7 separate regions of the Homo sapiens genome follow, and all the other regions are linked to region 3. The links are contacts of gene promoters, found by promoter capture Hi-C in blood cells and fetal thymus (Javierre and others, 2016). All regions are on one chromosome and are shown on one strand. The core of a region is centred on a gene start or on the middle of the fragment in contact, and the rest is flanking DNA. Distances in the headings are between cores, read along the strand shown. Region 1 overlaps ZYG11B (zyg-11 family member B, cell cycle regulator). Region 2 has its middle 21 kb from the start of COA7. Region 3 holds the start of CC2D1B (coiled-coil and C2 domain containing 1B). Region 4 has its middle 5.0 kb from the start of ZYG11B. Region 5 overlaps TXNDC12 (thioredoxin domain containing 12). Region 6 overlaps BTF3L4 (basic transcription factor 3 like 4). Region 7 has its middle 3.2 kb from the start of COA7.

Region 1 (2,700 bases), core at 84-2,583, 380 kb before region 3:
CTGGGATTACAGGCGTGAGCCACCGCGCCTGGCCTACTTTTTGACTCTTGAAGTAACAAAACATAAACACATTGTACAGCTGTAAAAAAATACAAAAAAAATTCTCTCTTTTACATCTCTTTTTCTATCTTTTATTTTTTTTAGAGACAGGGTCTTGCTCTGTCACCCAGGCTGGAGTACAATAGCATAATCACAACTCACTGCAGCCTCGACTTCCCAGGCTCAAGAGATCCTCCCACCTCAGCCATCCGAATAGCTGGGACTACAGGCACGTGTCATCATGTCTGGCTAATTTTTTGTTTTTGTGTAGAGACGGGGTCTTACTATGTTGCTCAGGTTTGAACTCCTGGGCTCAAGTGATCCTCCTGCCTCAGCCTCCAAAGTGCTGGGGTAATAGGCGTGAGTCACCATGCCTGGTCTCTCAACTCATAAGAATCAGGCTCAAGATGTCCTACCCAAAAGCTTCCTAAGACTGACAATTCCTGTAACAGAACACAAGGGCTTTCACAGTGCTCCTTTATTGTATCTTTGGGTGACTTTTTTCTAAAGATTGGGCCAGAAATCAGGTGACTACAAAAATTACAAACTCGACAATTTAATGATAGAAATAGATTTTTTATGGATATCTTTCTAAAAGACTATGTAATACTATGATGAAGAGTGTGGGCTTGGGAGTCAGACTGCCTGGATTAAAATGCCACCTCTACCATTTACAAACCTATATAACCTTAAGCAAAGTACTTAATCTCCCTGAACCTCAGTTTCATGATTGTAAAATGAAGACAAGAGCAGTGCCTATGTCATAGGATTGTTGCCAGAATTAAATAAATTCTAAATGCAACACACTAAGAACAGTAACTGGCATATACTACCTGCTCAATAAATGTTATTACCACAGAATATCAGCTGCATAGAAAAAAACCCCGCATTTTCTTCTCTACTGTATTCTCAGAGCCTAAAACAATGCCTACTACATAGTGGGCACTAAATGTTTATTGCATGAATAAATGAAAAGTCAAGCATGAATTTATTGTTAAGCATAACTAAAATACACATTTGCCTCTAGAGAAAAAGACTACGTATCCAGAGAGAAATATTAAGTCCCAAGTCTAGCCTTGAAACCAAAATGAAACTGAAAGGCACTCAAGTATCATTTGAGTTCACAGGTACCTATGAGAAATTGAGATGTTAGATATCTCTGACTTCTCATCGTAATACTCCATGGAAAATCTCCTCTTAGTTGTTTGGGTTTTTAAAAAACTTTCTTTTCTTTTCTTTTTTTTTTTTTTTTTTTTTGAGACGAAGTCTCACTCTTTTGCCCCAGGCTGGAGTGCAATGGTGCAATCTCGGCTCACTGCAACCTCTGCCTCTTGGATTCAAGCAATACTCCTGCCTTAGCCTCTCGAGTAGCTGGGATTACAGGTGCATGCCACCACACCCGGCTACTTTTTGTATTTTTAGTAGAGATGGGGTTTCACCATGTTGGCCAGACTGATCTCGAACTCCTGGCCTCAGGTGATCCACCCGCCTCGGCCTCCCAAAGTGCTGGGATTACAGGCATGAGCCACCCCGCCCAGCAAAAACTTTTATTTTCTATTACAAATTCAACCAAGTCAGGCTTCCAGAAATAAACATCTACTATAACCTTAGAGATGATCTAATCCCTTACCCTCCCCCGCCCCAACTGCAATCATTTTACAGACAAAGAGGAAGGTCAAGAAGGTAGTACCAGCAGGGCGCAGTGGCTCACACCTGTAATCCCAGCACTTTGGAAGGCCAAGGTGAGCAGATCACTTGAGGCCAAGAGTTGGAGACCAGCCTGGCCAACATGGTGAAACCCCGTTTCTACTAAAAATACAAAAAATTAGCTAAGGGTGGTGGCGCATGCCTGTAATCCAAGCTACTCAGGAGACTCAGCCATGAGAATTGCTTGAACCCCGGAGGCGGAGGTCGCAGTGAGCTGAGATGGTGCCACTTGCACCCAGCCTGGGTGACAGAGACCCTGTCTCAAAAAAAAAAAAAAAAAAAAGAAGGTAGTACCAAGGGCATAGATCACAGACAATAGATAACATTGTGTTTAAGGGTATGGAGATATTGAACTATTTGGTATAAACTATGGGGAATTGTTTTTCTTTTTAAAAGAACACCAACTACTCTTTGGAGACTCCTAGATGACAAATTGAAAAGCAAGTAAAGCAAGCTTCTTGCACATATCACTTTAAGGCCTGGCCACTATGGCAAGTGGATATGTGCTAAAGGGCAAGGAGGTAGAGTTCTACCTAAAAAAGATCAAGAGCTGGAAAGCTACATAAATGCCCTGCTCTTTCATCTAACGTCATGTGATAAAGCTATTCTAGGAAACAAAACAAAAATTCAGGTCAGTGGCCATTGAGCAGATCACAGGAATTGTCCACTCAAAGAGATACTTTAGCACTATTTTCCTGTTACCTACAATAACCAGGAGTTTTGAAATATAATAAGGTAAACAGAGAAGTGGGGTTAATAATGGAAAGAACACTGGGCTTGCACAGTCAGTTCTGGCTCTGCTACTTACTAGCTGTGTGACCTTAGGAAAGTCAATTAACTTCTCAGTTTCCTTATCTGAAAAATTGAAGCTAAACCTCTTGACTATCCCACAAAATAGTAATGAGGAATAAATGGGACATCCATGAAAATACCTTTAAAACAAGGGCCAGGAGC
Region 2 (2,700 bases), core at 164-2,663, 310 kb before region 3:
CCCCATCTTATTCCTAACTCAGGCATCTTTGCATCAGGGAACTGCTTGTGGTCTCTGCACCACCTGCCCCACCCCCAAAATATCCCTATCTCTCTCTCTCTCTCACACACACACACACACACACAGAGAGAAATTAAGTGGTGATGGATGCGTTCATTAATTTGACTATAGTAATCAGTACACAATGTATATCAAATCATCACACTGTATACCTTGAATATATACACTTTTTGTTTATCCATTAAATATTTTAAAAGAAAAAGTAACAACAAAATACCCAGGCTGTTTCTTACAGCCAAGCTTTTGCTGATGTCTGGGTCCACCAAGACCTACGGAATGAAAATCTGGATTTTAAATAAGAAAACCACGGGAAATTCTTATTCATACTAAAATGGGCAGCCCACTCAAGTGGTGTAAAGCCGCAGCTCCTTAGCTTGTCACTACAACCCCTCTGCAGTCTGGTCTCCACACCTTCAGCTCTTTACAATTCCTAATAGTCCTTTAAAACTTAGCCCACATGTCACCTCCTCCAGGAAGTCATCCTGGACCCTCAAGTTCCGTGGTCTTCTGATAGTCCTTGTGCTTCTCTCAGTTCTTTCTTTCCTTTTTTAAAATTTAGTGGGTTTTTTTGTTTTTGTTTTTTTTTTGAGACAGAGTCTCACTCTGTTGCCCAGGCTAGAGTGCAATGGCATGATCTCGGCTCACTGCAACCTCTGCCTCTCAAGTTCAAGCGATTCTCCTGCCTCAGCCCCCCAAGTAGGTGGGATTACAGGCACCTGGCATCCTGCCTAATTTTTGTATTTTTAGTAGAGATGGGCTTTTGCCATGTTGGCCTGTTGGCCAGGCTGGTCTCGAACTCCTGGCCTCAAGTGATCCATCTGCCTTGGCCCCCCAAAGTGCTGGGATTACAGGCGTGAGCCACTTCGTCCAGGCTTAATTTGATTTTTTAAAAACAGAGACAAGTTCTCACTATGTTGCCCAGGTTGGTCTCAAACTTCTGAACTCAAGCGATCCACCTGCCTCAGCCTCCCAAAATGATGGCACTACTATGCCCAGCCTGTCTCTGTCCTTTTCACATGGTTTGGGACAGGCTGTTAAGTGCCTGTCCCAATAGATTATGTCCTAATAGATTATGTCTCATTTCTATTCCCTGTGCCTAGCTCAGGATCTGGTACAGATGAGATACATAATAAATCTTTATTGAAGGAAAGGGAAGGGAAGGGAAACTCTCAGAGACAAATGCTATCTTCCAGTAGATCAACTGAGCATTGAAAAGGTAGCGTTTTGGAAAAGAATCTGGATTTAAATAATTTCTCTGCAAATGTGTTATGTTTCCTCTATGAGCCTCATTTTCCTCATCTCTAGAGTAAGGATAATGTTTACTTTTCAGGGTTAGTGTAAGGGTTAAAGGGTTTAATGAGATAAAGTAAGTGCAGTGCCTGGCTCGATGCCTGGCACATTCTAAATTGTGTAATAGCTCACTGGAGGGCTATCTTTCGGAAGCAGAACTAGGCTTGTTCTGTACAGCTCCAGAGAGCAGAACTAGGCCCAATGGATGGAAGCTGCTAGGAGACAGAACTCAGTTCATCGACATCTGAGTGGAAGAAAGCATTTTCTACTTGGCAGAATGAGAAGCTCTGGGAGGAGGTGAACTTCCTATTACAGGGATATGCAAGAAGAGAGGAGATGCTCGCCTGTCAGGGCTGATGCAGAGGGGACTAACTCTATATGAGATTTGGGTGGAGTGAGTATGCAAAACCTGAAAGATGGGAGCCAGATAAGGCATTTCCATTCAGTGCCCTCCATAATTCATTATTCATATGGTCAACACTGAGGGCTTCCTCTAGGCTGGGTGGCCCTAGGTTGGGCGCTGGGGATGCAGGGCTGGATTTGACAGAGTCTTTATCATTTAGGAAATTACAGTCTAAATTTTGATCATTTATTGAGCAACTACTTTGTACCAGATGCTCTAATCATCTCAGGAAACTTTCATTCTCACTGTTTTTCAAATAAACTGAGGCTCAGCCAAAGTGGCTTACAGAAAGACTCACAGACCAATGAGTATTGCAGCCGGGATTAGAACTTAGTCCTGCTTGTCTCCTAAACCCTCTTCATATGACTCAAGGCTGCCTCACATCCTGATGTTGGAAACACTTTGCAGTCTCAGGGAGACCCTCAAACAGCACCCGAGGACCTTTTGGGTACCAAGTAGATGCTGATGAACAGGAGCTAAAAGGCTAAGGTCAGCTGCAGGAGGACATGGACTCCCTGTAGCACGCTCTGTGCCCAAGTTCCCTCCAGCTGGGGCCATGCGGAGAGTCCAGGAGAACTTGCTGAGGTCAGACTTCACTGCTCACATGACCAGCCAAGCTGCCTGGGCCAGGGCTCCCTGAGGGAACTTGAAACCCGGCTGGGTTCCATCAGCTCCAAGAATAGCAGCTGACCCTACTCTCCCCAAGATGACGGTGTCCGATCAGGTTCCAGGAGGCCCCAGTGGACTCCAGACATCAGTGGCATCAAGCTTTGACCTTGAAGCTGCCCTGGGGTGGTGTAATAACAGCAACATTCATTAACTGCCCACTGTGTGCAGGGCGCCTCCTGAAGTGGGGAACATCCTGTAAGGGAGGTCTAAGTATGGAACCCATTTTACAGGTGAGGAAATTGGGGCTCAGAGATACTGAGAACTTACCCAAAGTCACA
Region 3 (2,700 bases), core at 37-2,536:
CAAAGATTACTTCAAGGTGGCTAGTCAACAGCGGGGCCATTGTGGAGATGAGACCAGCCCACGCTCCAGGTAGGCTGGGACCCAAGATAGCCACCAGAACAAGACACACAGACGTTGTACTCTGTACAATTCTTGCATGCTTCCCATATCAAATTTTCCTTTTAAGCCGTTCTCTTTCCCCCCAAAATCGAAGTGGTTACTTTAGATGGGAATCTGGCCACTTCCCCATTACTCCGCTCTCGGTTTTTTTGTTTGTTTTAGTTTGAGACAGGGTCTCACCTTGTCACCCGGGTTGGAGTGCAGTTGACAGCTCATTGCAGCTTGGACCTCCGGGGCCACAGCGATTCTCCTGCCTCGGCCTCTCAGTAGGTAGGACTACAGGCACGCACCACCACACCCGGCTAATATTTGTAATTTTTTGTAGAGACAGGGTTTCGCCATGTTGCCCAGGCTGGTCTCGGACTCCTGAGCTCAATCTCTTGTTAACTGGACTCTGCAAGCCGCAGGGAGAAACGTGCTTTCCTTAGAAAACTAGACTAGAGCATATTTACTGATGCTAAAGAGGTTGGTTTTGTATTTCCCTGGGCAAATAATTCTCTCTGAGCCTCCGTTTCTTCTAGAGATGATGTCCATCTTGCAGGATTGAGAACTGGTATAAGCTCCATTATGAAAAGTGACTGACACAAGCTTGGCAGAAAACGGGTATACTCCGTTTCTCTCCTTAATATCCTCCATGCCATTTGATTGCACAGCAGGGTAGGCGAGTGAGAACTTAGTGTTAGACTCTGTAAAGTATTTAAGATGTGCAGCGAGCTCTGCCTGTCTGAAGTTTTCAACGGACCGGAAAAGGATACTTTCAGGTGCTGAATTATTAAGAAACATATGGTGGGCCCCATTTCCATTTCCCCAGGCTTAAAGGACATGGACAAGCAGGTGAGCCCCGCCCCTGTCTCTCTTCCAGGGCGGAGCTTGGGTAGGCCCCGCCCTCTTGCTCGGTGGGGCGGGGCGAGGGCTGGAGGCGGGGTAGGTCCAGCGAGCGAGCGAGCGCCCAGCGCCTCGGGCTGAGTGAGGGAGGAGGTTCGGTGGAGAGGCTGCAAGTGGGCGAGGGCTGGGCGCAGCGACCTCATTGGAGCCGGCCGGTGGACGCCCCGGCGGAACCGCCCAGAGTTCCTGTCCTGCGCTACCTACCCGAACGCGCCTGCGCGCTGCGAACCCCGCCCCGGTGTCACCTGTTGGAGCCCCCCGCCCGCGTAGCCGTGCACATGCGCACTGCCGGCCGCCGGCCAGTGGGGTCACGTGTTGCGCGCGAGCCACCTCCCCTGCTGGCGCTTCCTGTCGCTACCGCTGCGGCCCAGGGCCCGCGGGAGCCCAGGGCGGTGCCGGGTGAGACAAGGCCGGGGTTTGGCTCGGATTCACCGCGAGGTATGCCGCGTCCCCGCCCCTCGGCGTGGGGAGTTCTGGGGACCGCGGGGGTAGATGGAGGCGGCGCGGGCGGGGCAGGGCGGCGCGTCCCGCAGCGCGGGAGTGGGGGTCCCGTGTCGCCTCCCCCTACGGACTCCGTTGCCCACCTTCCGTGAGGCCTGGCTGTGTCATCGGGGCCGCAGCCTTGGAGTGTCTGGCCTCGCTTTCACCTGAGCCGGAGTCACTCCCGAAATCTGACACTCAGAGTCCCCCGGAGCGCCCGCCAGCTCCTCCGCCCGCTCCCCGCCGCCTCCACGCCCGTCAGCTGGTCTCCCCGCCAGCGCTGTGGCGAGATGCGCCGGCTTCCTGCCTTTTCCCCCTACCTTCTGTGCACCTCCCCTTTGGTGCCAGAATGGGGTTTCTGAAACACCGATACGATCCCGCCACTTCTTTCCCAGCGCCCTCAGAATAATGCCCAAACGCTTTTCGGCTTAGAGGTTTTCATATTCTGCCGCTTGCTCACATTTCCACCTCGGCTTGTGCATTCAGGCCTCACCGCTTATGCCCCAGTCATACCAGGCCTCAGGTTCCATTGTACAGGCCAAGCTGCTCCCCACTTCAGAGCCGTCAAGTGTTCCCTCGTCTTGGAATCCTATTTCCCTCTTTCCCCCAACTTCTTTGCGTGACTCAGCTCAGGCGTCACCGCCTCGAAGGAGGAGCCTTTTCTCCCAGGGCTGAAGAAGGGGTCACCTCAGGGCACCCATGGCCCCTGGGGCAACCCCGTGTAGTCCACCTCCACCCTGTAAATGGTCATTGAAGGCTGAGACCGTCTTAGGTTCATTTCTGCGCTCCCAGTGCCCAGCGCAAGGTCTGACACAGGAGGTCCTGTGAATAACTGTGAGATCTTTATGGGAATCAGAATGCTGAGCCAGCTTTCTCCAGAGCTCAGCTGTGAGATGGAACTTTGATGACATGTCCTTGGATGATGAAAATGTTCTGTGTGTGTGCTGTCTGGTCATAGCCCCTCACCACATATGGCTGTTAAGCACTTGGAATGTGTCTGTTGTGGCTGATGGACTGGATTTTTAGCTTTATTTCATTTTAATTCATTGAAATTTAAAATTAAATAGCCAGCTGTGGCTTCCATAAGCACAGCTTTAGAGCCTTTCTGAATTCTACCCAGCCTTCCACCCACCCTGAACCTAGAGTACTTCCCTGAATGTGCTTTTTAAATTTGAGTCCGTTCAGAACATTCCTCAGTAAACCCATTAACAGGTGATCCCCATCCCTCCCATGGCC
Region 4 (2,700 bases), core at 85-2,584, 360 kb before region 3:
CCCAGCATTTTAGGAGGCTGAGGTGGGTGGATCATGAGGTTAGGAGATCAAGACCAGCCCGGCCAACATGGTGAAACTCCATCTCTACTAAAAATACAAAAGAAATTAGCTGGGTGTAGCGGTGCGCACCTGTAGTCCCAGCTACTCAGGAAGCTGAGGCAGGAGACTCGCTTGAACCCGGCAGGCGGAAGTTGCAGTGAGCCAAGATCACTCCATTGCACTCCAGCCTGGGCGACAGAGAGGGACTCCTTCTCAAAAAAAAAAAAAAAAAAAAAGAAAGAAAAAAAAATTAGAGTTCTAGCCAGCCAAGGTGGTTCACACTTGTAATCCCAGCACTTTGGGAGGCCAAGGCAGGCAGATGGTTTGAGACCAAAAGTTTGAGACCAGCCTGGGCAAAATGGCAAAATCCCATCTCTACAAAAAAATACCAAAAAGTAGCTGGGCATGGTGGTAGTTTCAGCTACTCAAGAGACTGAGGTGGGAGGATCACCTGAGCCCTGGAGGTCGAGGCTGCTATGAGGCATCATCACGCCACTGCACTCCAGCCTGTGTGACAGAGTAAGACCCTATCTCCAAAAATAAATAAATAAATAAGAGTTCTGCAATCAAGAAAGAATGGAGTCACAGTTGATTTGCTTGATTTGCAATCAATGAAGCACAAACAGATCAAAAATACATCCAAATTACCTAGGAATTTAGTATAATACTGAAGGTAGCATTTCAAGTCAGAAAGCAAAAGTTGGAATTGTATTTGGTGTTAGAATAACTGGATAGACATCTAGAAAATTTTAACTTGGATTTATACTTCACACTATTCACCAAGACAAATTTCAAATATATCAAATATTAAAATGTAAAAAAGAAGAACGAGCATGGTGGCTCACGCCTGTAATTCCAGCACTTTGGGAGGCCCAGGCAGGCAGATCACTTGAAGTCGAGTTCAAGACCACCCTGGCCAAGATGGTGAAACCCCATCTCTACTAAAAATACAAAATTAGGCCGGGCACAGTGGCTTCCAGCACTTTGAGAGGTCAAGGCAGGTGGATCACAAGGTCAGGAGTTCAAGACCAGCCTGACCTAGATGGTGAAACTCCGTCTCTATTAAAACTACAAAAATTACAGGCAACGGCTGTAATCCCAGCTACTCCGGTGGCTGAGACAAGAGAATCGCTTGAACCTGGGTGGCAGAGATTGCAGTGAGCCAAGATCGAGCCACTGCACTCCAGCCTGGATGACCGAGTGAGACTCCGTCTCAAAAAAAAAAAAAAAAAAAAAGCCGGGCACAGTGGCTCCCGCTTGTAATCCCAGCACTTTGGGAGGCCGAGGTGGGCAGATCATGAGGTCAGGAGATCGAGACCATCCTGGCTAACACGGTGAAACCCCGTCTCTACTAAAAATACAAAAAATTAGCCGGGCGCAGTGGCGGACGCCTGCAGTCCCAGCTACTCGGGAGGCTGAGGCAGGAGAATGGCGTGAACCCGGCAGGCGGAGCTTGCAGTGAGCCGAGATCGCGCCACTGCACTTCAGCCTGGGCAACAGAGCGAGACTCTGTCTCAAAAAAAAAAAAAAAAAAAAAAAAAGTAAAAAAGAAAGAAGCGCCGGGCGCGGTGGCTCACGCCTGTAATCCCAGCACTTTGGGAGGCCGAGGCGGGTGGATCACGAGGTCAGGAGATCGAGACCATCCTGGCTAACAAGGTGAAACCCCGTCTCTACTAAAAATACAAAAAATTAGCCGGGCGCGGTGGCGGGCGCCTGTAGTCCCAGCTACTCGGGAGGCTGAGGCAGGAGAATGGCGTGAACCCGGGAAGCAGAGCTTGCAGTGAGCCGAGATTGCGCCACTGCAGTCCGCAGTCCGGCCTGGGCGACAGAGCGAGACTCCGTCACAAAAAAAAAAAAAAAAAAAAAGAAAAAAAAAAAGAAAGAAGGAAACCATAACATACTGGAAGAAAGAATCATGGGAGAATTTTTTAGAATCTTAAAGTAAGGAAGGTCTTCTTAAGTACAAAACAAGAGCTGGGCACGGTGGCTCATGCCTGTAATCCCAGCACTTTGGGAGGCTGAGGTGGGCACATCATGAGGTCAGGAGTTCGAGACCACCCTGGCCAACATGGCAAAACCCCGTCTCTACTAAAAATACAAAAATTAGCCGGGCATGGTGGTAATCCCAGCTACTCCAGAGGCTGAGGCAGGAGAATCCCTTGAAACCGGGAGGCGGAGGTTGCAGTGAGCCAAGATTGCGCCGCTGTACTCCAGCCTGGGCAAAAGAGGGAAACTCCGTCTCAATAAATAAATAAATAAGTACAAAACAAAACCAAGATGCCATAACAGAAAAGATTGATAAATTCAGCTATGTAGAAATAAAAAATGTAAGGCAAAAGTCACCATAAGTAGAGTCAGATAACAAATGACTATATGTATATATGTATGCATTTCATATAGGAAAATGAATAATGTTTATATTTGTATTCAGAGCTGAAATCAATAAGAACAAAACCCAAGGGGAAAAATGCACAAAAGATGTGAACTGATAGTTCACAGAAAAAGAAATAGAAATGGCTCTTCAATGCTCACTCTTACTTATAATAATAAGATAAAGGCAAATTAGAATTTCTTTGAAATTACCATTTCTCATCTGTCAGATTGGCAAAGATCTATGATTGATAAGATACTGTGTGGAAAGGAGGGGTGATGTTGAACAGG
Region 5 (2,700 bases), core at 135-2,634, 310 kb after region 3:
GTTGGGGACCTGCATATGCAGAGGACCCTGTTCTGGGTCTGAAGATTTCTCTCGTTACTTCTTCCGCGAAGAGCTAGGTTACTGCCACTTGCTTGCCTTTGGGAAACAGCACCTGCATCCCAGGTAGCTGTATCTAGTGCATAAGAAGAGCCAAGCGAATGGTAGAAGGTCTGCTGTTTAAGGGTCCCCAACAATTGTCCTTGCTGTGGTTCAGCGAAGTTTTTTTGTAAGTGAGCGATCAGTGGTTATGAATGGAGGTTAGGAGGTGTGGCCCCCTACTCCATCCATTACCTACATCTCCATTCTAAGTTTTAACACCTCTCTCCTCATCAGCCCTTACTTAGTTGAAAGTTGGACTGACAGTCTGTGAACTCAGAGTTTATGCTTTTCTAAGTAGATGAATTGTAGCATGGATCCCAACCCCTCTTCCTTTTTTTTTTTTCACTGACCTTACTGTATGGAATGATTCTGCTGCAATCCTTCTGTTTTTGTTTTCTCTTATCCTCTCTATTTTCACATCTATTGGTGAGTAATAAGATTGGGTGGGCATTCATTTTGCCTGAATGCAATCATTCCTTCATTCCGTAAATAATTTTTGATCACCTCCTATATTTCAGGCACTGTCCTAGGCACTAGGGATATAGCTGTAAACAGGACAGACAAGGTTCCTACTCTGGTGGAGCTTATATTCATGTCAGAGAGACAGAGTAGACTCATGAACAAATTAATAAGACAGTTTCAACTAGGAACAAGTGCTGGGAAAACAATAAGACTGTGATGGAATAGGAAGTAGAAAGGCTGGGGAGGTTGGTGGAGCTGGCATCACTTGAATTATGAAGGTCAGGAGAAGCTTTTTGGAGAAGGTGATATGTGGGTTTCCATCTCAGTGATGAAACTGCATGACAAATCCTGTTAGGCCAGAATGTTTTAAATACTGACAATCCCATTTTAAAACAGACTACCGTTTTTTTTTGTTGTTGTTTTGTTTTGTTTTTTAGACAGAGTCTCACACTGTTGCTCGGGCTGGAGTCCAGTGGCATGATCTTGGCTCACTGCAACCTCCGCCTCCTGGGTTCAAGCGATTCTCCTGCCTTAGCCTCCCGAGTAGCTGGGATTACAGGTGCCTGCCACCACGTCTGGCTAATTTTTTGTATTTTTAGTAGAGACGGGGTTTCACTATGTTGGCAAGGCTGGTCTCAAACTCCTGACCTCATGATCTGCCCGCCTCGGCCTCCCAAAGTGCTGGGATTACAGGCATGAGCCACTGCGCCCAGCCAGCTACTGTATATTTAAAGTTGTAAGTACTGAGAGTAACAGAAGAGTAGAGTGTTGGGTACGTGGGTTTAGATCTGAGTTTTTTCTTTGCTGTTTTTTCTGTTTGTTTGTTTGCTTTTGTTTTTGAGACGGAGTCTCACTCTGCCAGGCTGGAGTGGAGTGGTGCAATCTCGGCTTACTGCAACTTCTGCCTCCCGGGTTCAAATGATTCTCCTGCCTCAGCCTCCCAAGTAGCTGGGACTACAGGCATGTGCCACTATGCCCAGCTAATTTTTTTTTTTTTTGTATTTTTTTGTATTTTTAGTAGAGATGGAGTTTCACCATGTTGGCCAGGCTGATCTCAAACTCCTGACCTCAGGTAATCCTCCCTCCTTGGCCTCCCAAAGTATTGGGATTATAGGCGGGAGCCACTGCGCCAGGCCTAGATCTGAGTTTTAATTTGTTCTGCCACTCACTAGCTGAGTAGCCTTGGGCAAGTTTCTTAACTCTCAAAGCCTCCGTTCCTCATCTGCAAAATGGGCATCATAACTACCTCAGACACTCAACAAATAATTTGCTCTGTTCAAGTTACTGTGTTAGGTGTAGGTAATACCTTGGAATCAGGTATTTTGTATTTTTATTCCTTGTTAGATATTAAGCTTTGTGTGGTTGTTCCAGTTACCATTGTTGTGTAATAAATCACTCCAAAATTTAGTGGGCATGAAGAAATCATTTTATTATGCTCACAATTGTGTGAGTAAGGAATTCAAACAAGGCACACTGGGAAAGGCTTGTCCCTGTTCTATGATGACTGGGGCCTTGGCTAAGCTGGTTACCTCTCCATGTGATCTTTCCGCATGGGCTCCTATGGGTTTCCTCACAGTAGCTTTATGGGAGGCTGGATTCCAAGAGTGCGTGCCATAAGAGAACAAGGTGGAAATGCATGGCATTTTTGTCACCTAGCCTTACAAGGCACATAGCATCACTTCCACAGTACCCTGTAGGGGCAGATTCAAGGGAATGGAATATTAGGACCCCCACCCTCACCCCCAATGGGAGGTATGTTGAGGTCACATTGTAAGAAGGGCATATCTGCCACAGTGAACCAGGACTATTTCTGTCTTGTTCATGCTCAGGAATATTTGTTGAAAGAGGAAATGAATGATAAACATGATAATTGTGATTCCTGTCCTTTTTCAGCTTGCAGTCTGGTAAGATACCAAGACAAGTAAGCAGACAGTTACATGGCAGCATGATATGTGCTTTAAGCAGAGAAATACCAGGTAGCTGCAGGAGCACATAGAAGGGCAGCTTAGGGCAGTGGGGCTGGGTTGGGAGGATTCAATCAAAAAACAAAAGGCACTTAATATTGTGTCGGACACTTAGAAAATATTTAATAAACATTAACCAGTATTATTTCCCCCATGGAAATAATAATAATAATCC
Region 6 (2,700 bases), core at 56-2,555, 300 kb after region 3:
CATCTCTACTAAAAATACAAAAAATTAGCCAGGCGTGGTGGCGGGCGCCTGTAGTCCCAGCTACTCGGGAGGCTGAGGCAGGAGAATGGTGTGAACACAGGAGGCGGAGCTTGCAGTGAGCCGAGATCGCACCACTGCACTCCAGCCTGGGCAAAAGAGCGAGACTGCACCTCAAAACAACAACAAAAAACAAACAAAAAACCAAAAAAAAAAAACAAAAAAAAACCCTGGCTAAAATGGCAAATTTTGTGATATATATATAGATATATCTACACACACACACACACACACACACACACACACACACACACACAGAGTAAAAAACAAAACAAAAAGCCAAAAGAACAGGACCCTAAGAGAGAAAGAAGGATGCTATGGAATGGTAAAGTGAATAGGACATGGTGCTTCCCTTTTACTCTCGTGTACTCAGAGCTGTCTATCTATGGGCACCTGAGGCTCTAGCTGGAGGAAGAAGGAACTGCAGGAAGAGCCCGCCATTAACTTTAGGTCCTCTTTCTGTACAACTGGTTCAGAAAAAACAAGAACCAGGAAGAGGAAAATGTAAAAAGTAAAACTTATGTGTCCAATTACAAAATTTATATTCCCAGCCTTAAGCTTTCTCTAAGCCCTAGCTCCCTATAGCTAACTTACTGCAGAACAATCCCACCTGGAATAATCAGTACCTCTTAAATTTAATAGGTTCTAAGCAAACTCATCACAGAGAATCAGCATGCTATAAACTAGAAACAACGAATAAACATGTTCCCAGCCGTCAAGACTCTTTATAAGCTACTGAAAACAGACTACTGGATTAATAAGTTACCATTATACACCACGATATGAGATAGCGAAAAACATATTATAGAAGAGCAACTTAGGCTAACAGCAGTAAAAGTACAGAGAAAGGGTTGACTATACCTGGAAAGACAGGAAGGGTTTCATGGAGGCTGAATTATACCCTGATTAAGACAGAAGCTGTCCTCTGAATATTATTATAAAACTCTATGAAGCAACTTGGAACAATTAGGGCATCTGAATCGGAAAGTGCTTTTTGGTTACACTTCTTACCAAATAAACTGGAAAAAATCTGTTGTTTCTGAGAAATAAAACAGATCCTTTTGTCAATGGATTCATGCAATTGGGGAAGAAAAGGTGACAGCACAGTCACTACATTCAACTAGATTACCAAATAACAAGCACATTCAAATATTTTCAAATGTTACAGAACATAAAACATTTTCAGAAATTTGGTTCTGGATGATACTCTGTAAGTCTGCCTAAGAATTCCTTTCAAAAAGCTGGTTATTGGCCAGGCGCAGTGGCTCACACCTGTAATCCTCCCAGGACTTTGGGAGGCCAAGGCAGGTGGAACTTCTGAGGTCAGGAGTTTGAGACGAGCCTGGCCAATGTGGTGAAACCCCGTCTCTACTAAAAATATAAAAATTAGCCAGATGTGGTGGTGCGCCTATAATCCCAGCCACTCAGGAGGCTGAGGCATGAGAATTGCTTGAACCCAGGAGGCAGTAGGTTGCAGTGAGCCAAGACTGTGCCACTGCACTCCAGCCTGAGTAACACAGTGAGACCATCCCCCCACCAAAAAAAAAAAAAAAAAGCTGGTTATTTATTTGACCTTTGTATGAAACTGTCTCTGAAACCCCTCATCCCTTAGTTTTGTTTTTTTTTTTTTTGAGATGGAGTCTTGCTCTGTCACCAGGCTGGAGTGCAGTGGCATGATCTGGGCTCACTGAAACCTCTGCCTCCAGGGTTCAAGCGATTCCCCTGCCTCAGCCTCCTGAAGTCCTATCCTTTAGTTTCTGACAGCCTTGGATTTTTCTTTGTTTGGTAACATTAAAAACAAACAAACAAACCTATATATAATTTATTATACCAAATCAATGAACTATTATACCAAATGAACTATTATACCAAATGAACTATTATACCAATGAACTATTATACCAAATCAATGAACCAAAGAAGGTCAGAGAAGCTTGTCTTATTCCAAATAGTCTTTTAGTTTTTTTTTTTTTTTAGACAGTCTTGCTCTGTCGCCCAGGCTAGAGTGCAATGGCACGATTTCAGCTCACTGCAACCTCTGCTTCCCAGGTTCAAGCGATTCTCCTACCTCAGCCTCCTGAGTAGCTAGGATTACAGGCATGCACCACCACACTCAGCTAATTTCTGTATTTTTAGTAGAGACAGTGTTGTACCATGTTGGCCAGGCTGGTCTTGAACTCCTGACCTCAGGTGATCCACCTGCTTTGGCCTCCCAAAGTGCTACGATTACAGGAGTGAGCCACCGCACCCAACCTTAGTTTTTAAAGTTTCTGAAGAGGACACCAATTAAGCTCTGGAAGGGGGAAAAAAAATCACAAATACTGATAGCTTGGATAGTACTAATGTTAGTGACATTCAGTACTGACAGTAGAAAATTAGGGGTATGGAGAAACACTTTACTTGGCCTAAGTGCATTCAATGAATTTTGAGATCCACTACTGCTCTCCCTGTTCCTCACTCCCTAAACTGAGCACTTTCTACTTTTTCATGTTTTGAAGGTCTAAGCACAGAAAGTACTATCATATTGTTTCACAATAATGGCAAAAAGTGTCTTTTCTTCTCAAAAGTTTTTATCTGCTTTAAACTGCCAAAACTCAAAAAGGCAGCATATTCCTGAGTTCACACTTTGTAACAAGTTTTAAA
Region 7 (2,700 bases), core at 142-2,641, 340 kb before region 3:
TGGAGCGGTGGCTCACGCCTGTAATCCCAACGCGTTGGGAGGCCGAGAATGGATAATCTTTCTAACAAATGGTGCTAGAGTAATTATAAACCCACATGCAATAAAGTGAACCTCAACTGTTATCTCATACCTCATACAAAAATTAATCTGAAATGGATCATAGGCTTTCTAAATATAAGATTTAAACCATAAAATTTCTACAAGAAAATATAGGATAAAATCTTAGTGACTTTGGGTTTGGCAAAGACTTCTTGAATACGAAAGAAAAAGCACAAACTATTAACAAGAGGAAAAAAATCAATAAACTAGACACACCATTAAAATGAAAAACTTTTGGTTTTGAAAGACACTGTTATAAAAACAAAAAAGGCAGGCCAAACTGGGAGAAAATATATGCAAAACTTCTGATAACGGACTTGAATATATAAATAACTCTTAGAATGCAATAATAAAAAACAATCCAATAAAAAGGGGGCGAAAGATTTTAACAAACATGTCATCAAAGATACACAGATGGCAGATAAGCACATGAAAAGATGCCAACATTATTGGTCACTCAAAAAAATACAAACTAAACCTATGATAAGATACTGTTATATTCACTATAATGGCTAAAATTTTAAAAGACTGACCACACATCAAATTATGGTGAGGATGTAGGGCAACTAGAACTGTCAAACACTGCTGGTAAGAATGTAATGGTAGAATCACTTTAGAAAACAGTTTGGGTGTTTCTTAAAGTTAGATATATACCTACCATATGATCTAGCCATTCCACTCCTAGGTATGAACCCCAAAAATGGAAATGAATGCCCATACAAAGACACGTACACAAATATTCACAGCAGCTTTATTTGTAAGCCAAAAACTGGAAACCCAAATGGATAAACAAATTGTGATATATCTACATCATGAAATGTCATTCACTAAGAAAAAGAATGAACTATTAATACGTGTGGTAACATGGATGAATCTCAAAATAATTATGCTGAATCGAAGAAACTATACAAAAAGAAACAGTACTTACTGTATCATTCTATTTAGATAATATCCTACAAAATGCAACCCATCTTCAGTGACAGAAAGCAGATTAATGGTTGCTGGGGAGGGAATGAAGTACAAAGTCACATGAGGAAATTTTGAGGTGATGAATATGCTCATTATCTTGATTGTGATAATGGTTTACAGGTGTATACATATGTAGAAACTCATAATTGTTACTTTAAAGTTATGTGCAGTTTCCTGTATGTCAATTAGACCTTCATTTAATGTTTCTTATAGCTTTAAGAAAAACCTGGGTCAAAAGAGCAAGAGTCAGTGATATTCTAAGTTCCATTAATGAAAACCAAATTATTTGGAATGATAATCCCTCTTCTTAATTCAGTCAACAATACTTGGGCACCTAATATTGCTGGGCACAATCAAGACACTGTTATTATAACAAGAATGAGCTAAGACCACATGGACGATGTCAAATTGAAGCAGAGAACTTAAGAAGGCAAGCCAAAAAAAAAAAAAAAATACAGGGGAAAAGCACTCTAGGGCAGAGGCAACAGTTAGTTCAAACGGATCACGAGGTCAGGAGTTCGAGACCAGCCTGGCCGATATGGTGAAACCCCATCTCTACTAAAAATACAAAAATTAGGCGGGCATTGTGGTGGGCGCCTGTAATCCCAGCTATTCAGGAGGCTGAGGCAGGAGAATTGCTTGAAACCGTAAGGCGGAGGTTGCGGTGAGCCAAAATCACGCCACTGCACTCTAGCCTGGATGAAAGAGCAAAACAAAAAAAAGTGACCTCTTACTTGGTTGAGCCTCTCATCACCAACTAACTCTCTTGTGCCCTCTACCGCTCAGGTGATCTCATTTCAATGCAGTTCAACTCAGAAAATAAAGGGAAACATTCCCAGATTTTAGTAATCGACATCACCCTGCTCTATTCTATCATCAAGCCCTATTCTATTCTTGGCCCTGTGACCAGCATACAGGACACAGAGGTCACAGTCTGGTGGGGAACACAGACTTTCATGCCATTATTGGCATGACAAGAAACATTCCTGGAACAGGAATGACTTTGAGCCAGGCGCTCTGCCAAGCACATTGCATACATGAACTTGTAGTCCTTCTGACAGCCATTACAAATGGATCTGCATTTACAGAAGAGGATTCAGACTCACAAACATGATTGGTTTAAGGTTACAATTTAATAAACATGGAACATGGATTCTGAACTAAGATCTGTCCCCACTCCAAAGCCAGTTCTTTCTTTCCTACTACACTATACCAGAATAAACCAAGTGGTGTGGAACACCAAAATGGGAGCATCTAAATCTAATTTGAATGTGTGTAATTGTTGTGTCTGGGAAGACTTTACATAGGAGAGTATTTCCGATTTGTGTCAAAAAGGGTGGTCCAGGCATCAAGAGCAGAGGTAAACAGGGACACAAACTTGGGATCTATTCAGAGAACAGAAGGTTGGTGGGATGTGGGGGAAGAGAGGCAGAAAATAAGGCTAGAATCAGATTGCACAGGGTCTTGAAGGCCATCCTAAAGAAGATGACCTCAAACCAAAGTTCAAGGATTCCCATCCTGGGCCATGTGTACTGAGGAGTCCCCTAAGGTGATCAGGGTATAAGAAACCACAGGTAAATGTGGTATATTGCCTGGAATGTCAATTTTACTCAAAGGCTTGGGGGAGAAAAG

The links. Contacts are between HindIII fragments. The CHiCAGO score rates a contact against its expected background, and 5 or more counts as called.
Region 1: a contact is called between a fragment that was not itself captured here and the fragment with the promoter of CC2D1B in region 3, in 5 of 17 cell types (naive CD4 T cells, naive CD8 T cells, naive B cells and 2 more). The highest score is 6.4, in naive CD4 T cells.
Region 2: a fragment that was not itself captured here is called in contact with the fragment with the promoter of CC2D1B in region 3 in 12 of 17 cell types (endothelial precursors, M0 macrophages, naive CD4 T cells and 9 more); the score reaches 11.4 in endothelial precursors.
Region 4: a contact is called between a fragment that was not itself captured here and the fragment with the promoter of CC2D1B in region 3, in 6 of 17 cell types (non-activated CD4 T cells, total CD8 T cells, total B cells and 3 more). The highest score is 6.7, in non-activated CD4 T cells.
Region 5: a contact is called between a fragment that was not itself captured here and the fragment with the promoter of CC2D1B in region 3, in 1 of 17 cell types (fetal thymus). The highest score is 7.7, in fetal thymus.
Region 6: a fragment that was not itself captured here is called in contact with the fragment with the promoter of CC2D1B in region 3 in 2 of 17 cell types (endothelial precursors and erythroblasts); the score reaches 5.4 in endothelial precursors.
Region 7: a fragment that was not itself captured here is called in contact with the fragment with the promoter of CC2D1B in region 3 in 9 of 17 cell types (fetal thymus, naive CD4 T cells, naive CD8 T cells and 6 more); the score reaches 9.6 in fetal thymus.

The regions. Positions count from the first base shown.
Region 1 is chr1:52,739,895-52,742,594 of GRCh38, reverse strand. The region is part of intron 1 of ZYG11B (zyg-11 family member B, cell cycle regulator); the gene reads right to left. Among named protein-coding and RNA genes, the nearest start is that of ZYG11B, 15 kb to the right of the region's middle. The HindIII fragment of the contact is 1,738 bases long and covers 465-2,202 here.
Region 2 is chr1:52,676,376-52,679,075 of GRCh38, reverse strand. No RefSeq gene overlaps it. Among named protein-coding and RNA genes, the nearest start is that of COA7, 21 kb to the left of the region's middle. The HindIII fragment of the contact is 2,221 bases long and covers 303-2,523 here.
Region 3 is chr1:52,364,791-52,367,490 of GRCh38, reverse strand. It overlaps CC2D1B (coiled-coil and C2 domain containing 1B), which reads left to right and starts at 1,286. Exons shown (of 25, transcript NM_001330585.2): 1 at 1,286-1,422. RefSeq lists silencers at 907-1,536, 1,577-1,686. The HindIII fragment of the contact is 5,331 bases long and covers 690-2,700 here.
Region 4 is chr1:52,720,135-52,722,834 of GRCh38, reverse strand. No RefSeq gene overlaps it. Among named protein-coding and RNA genes, the nearest start is that of ZYG11B, 5.0 kb to the left of the region's middle. The HindIII fragment of the contact is 3,938 bases long and covers 1-2,700 here.
Region 5 is chr1:52,051,959-52,054,658 of GRCh38, reverse strand. All of the region lies in intron 1 of TXNDC12 (thioredoxin domain containing 12), which reads left to right. It overlaps TXNDC12-AS1 (TXNDC12 antisense RNA 1), which reads right to left. Exons shown (of 3, transcript NR_126385.1): 3 at 1,976-2,252. Among named protein-coding and RNA genes, the nearest start is that of TXNDC12, 1.9 kb to the left of the region's middle. The HindIII fragment of the contact is 1,063 bases long and covers 853-1,915 here.
Region 6 is chr1:52,069,546-52,072,245 of GRCh38, reverse strand. The region is part of intron 3 of BTF3L4 (basic transcription factor 3 like 4); the gene reads right to left. Among named protein-coding and RNA genes, the nearest start is that of BTF3L4, 15 kb to the right of the region's middle. The HindIII fragment of the contact is 1,375 bases long and covers 618-1,992 here.
Region 7 is chr1:52,700,213-52,702,912 of GRCh38, reverse strand. No RefSeq gene overlaps it. Among named protein-coding and RNA genes, the nearest start is that of COA7, 3.2 kb to the right of the region's middle. RefSeq lists an enhancer at 1-35. The HindIII fragment of the contact is 3,859 bases long and covers 1-2,700 here.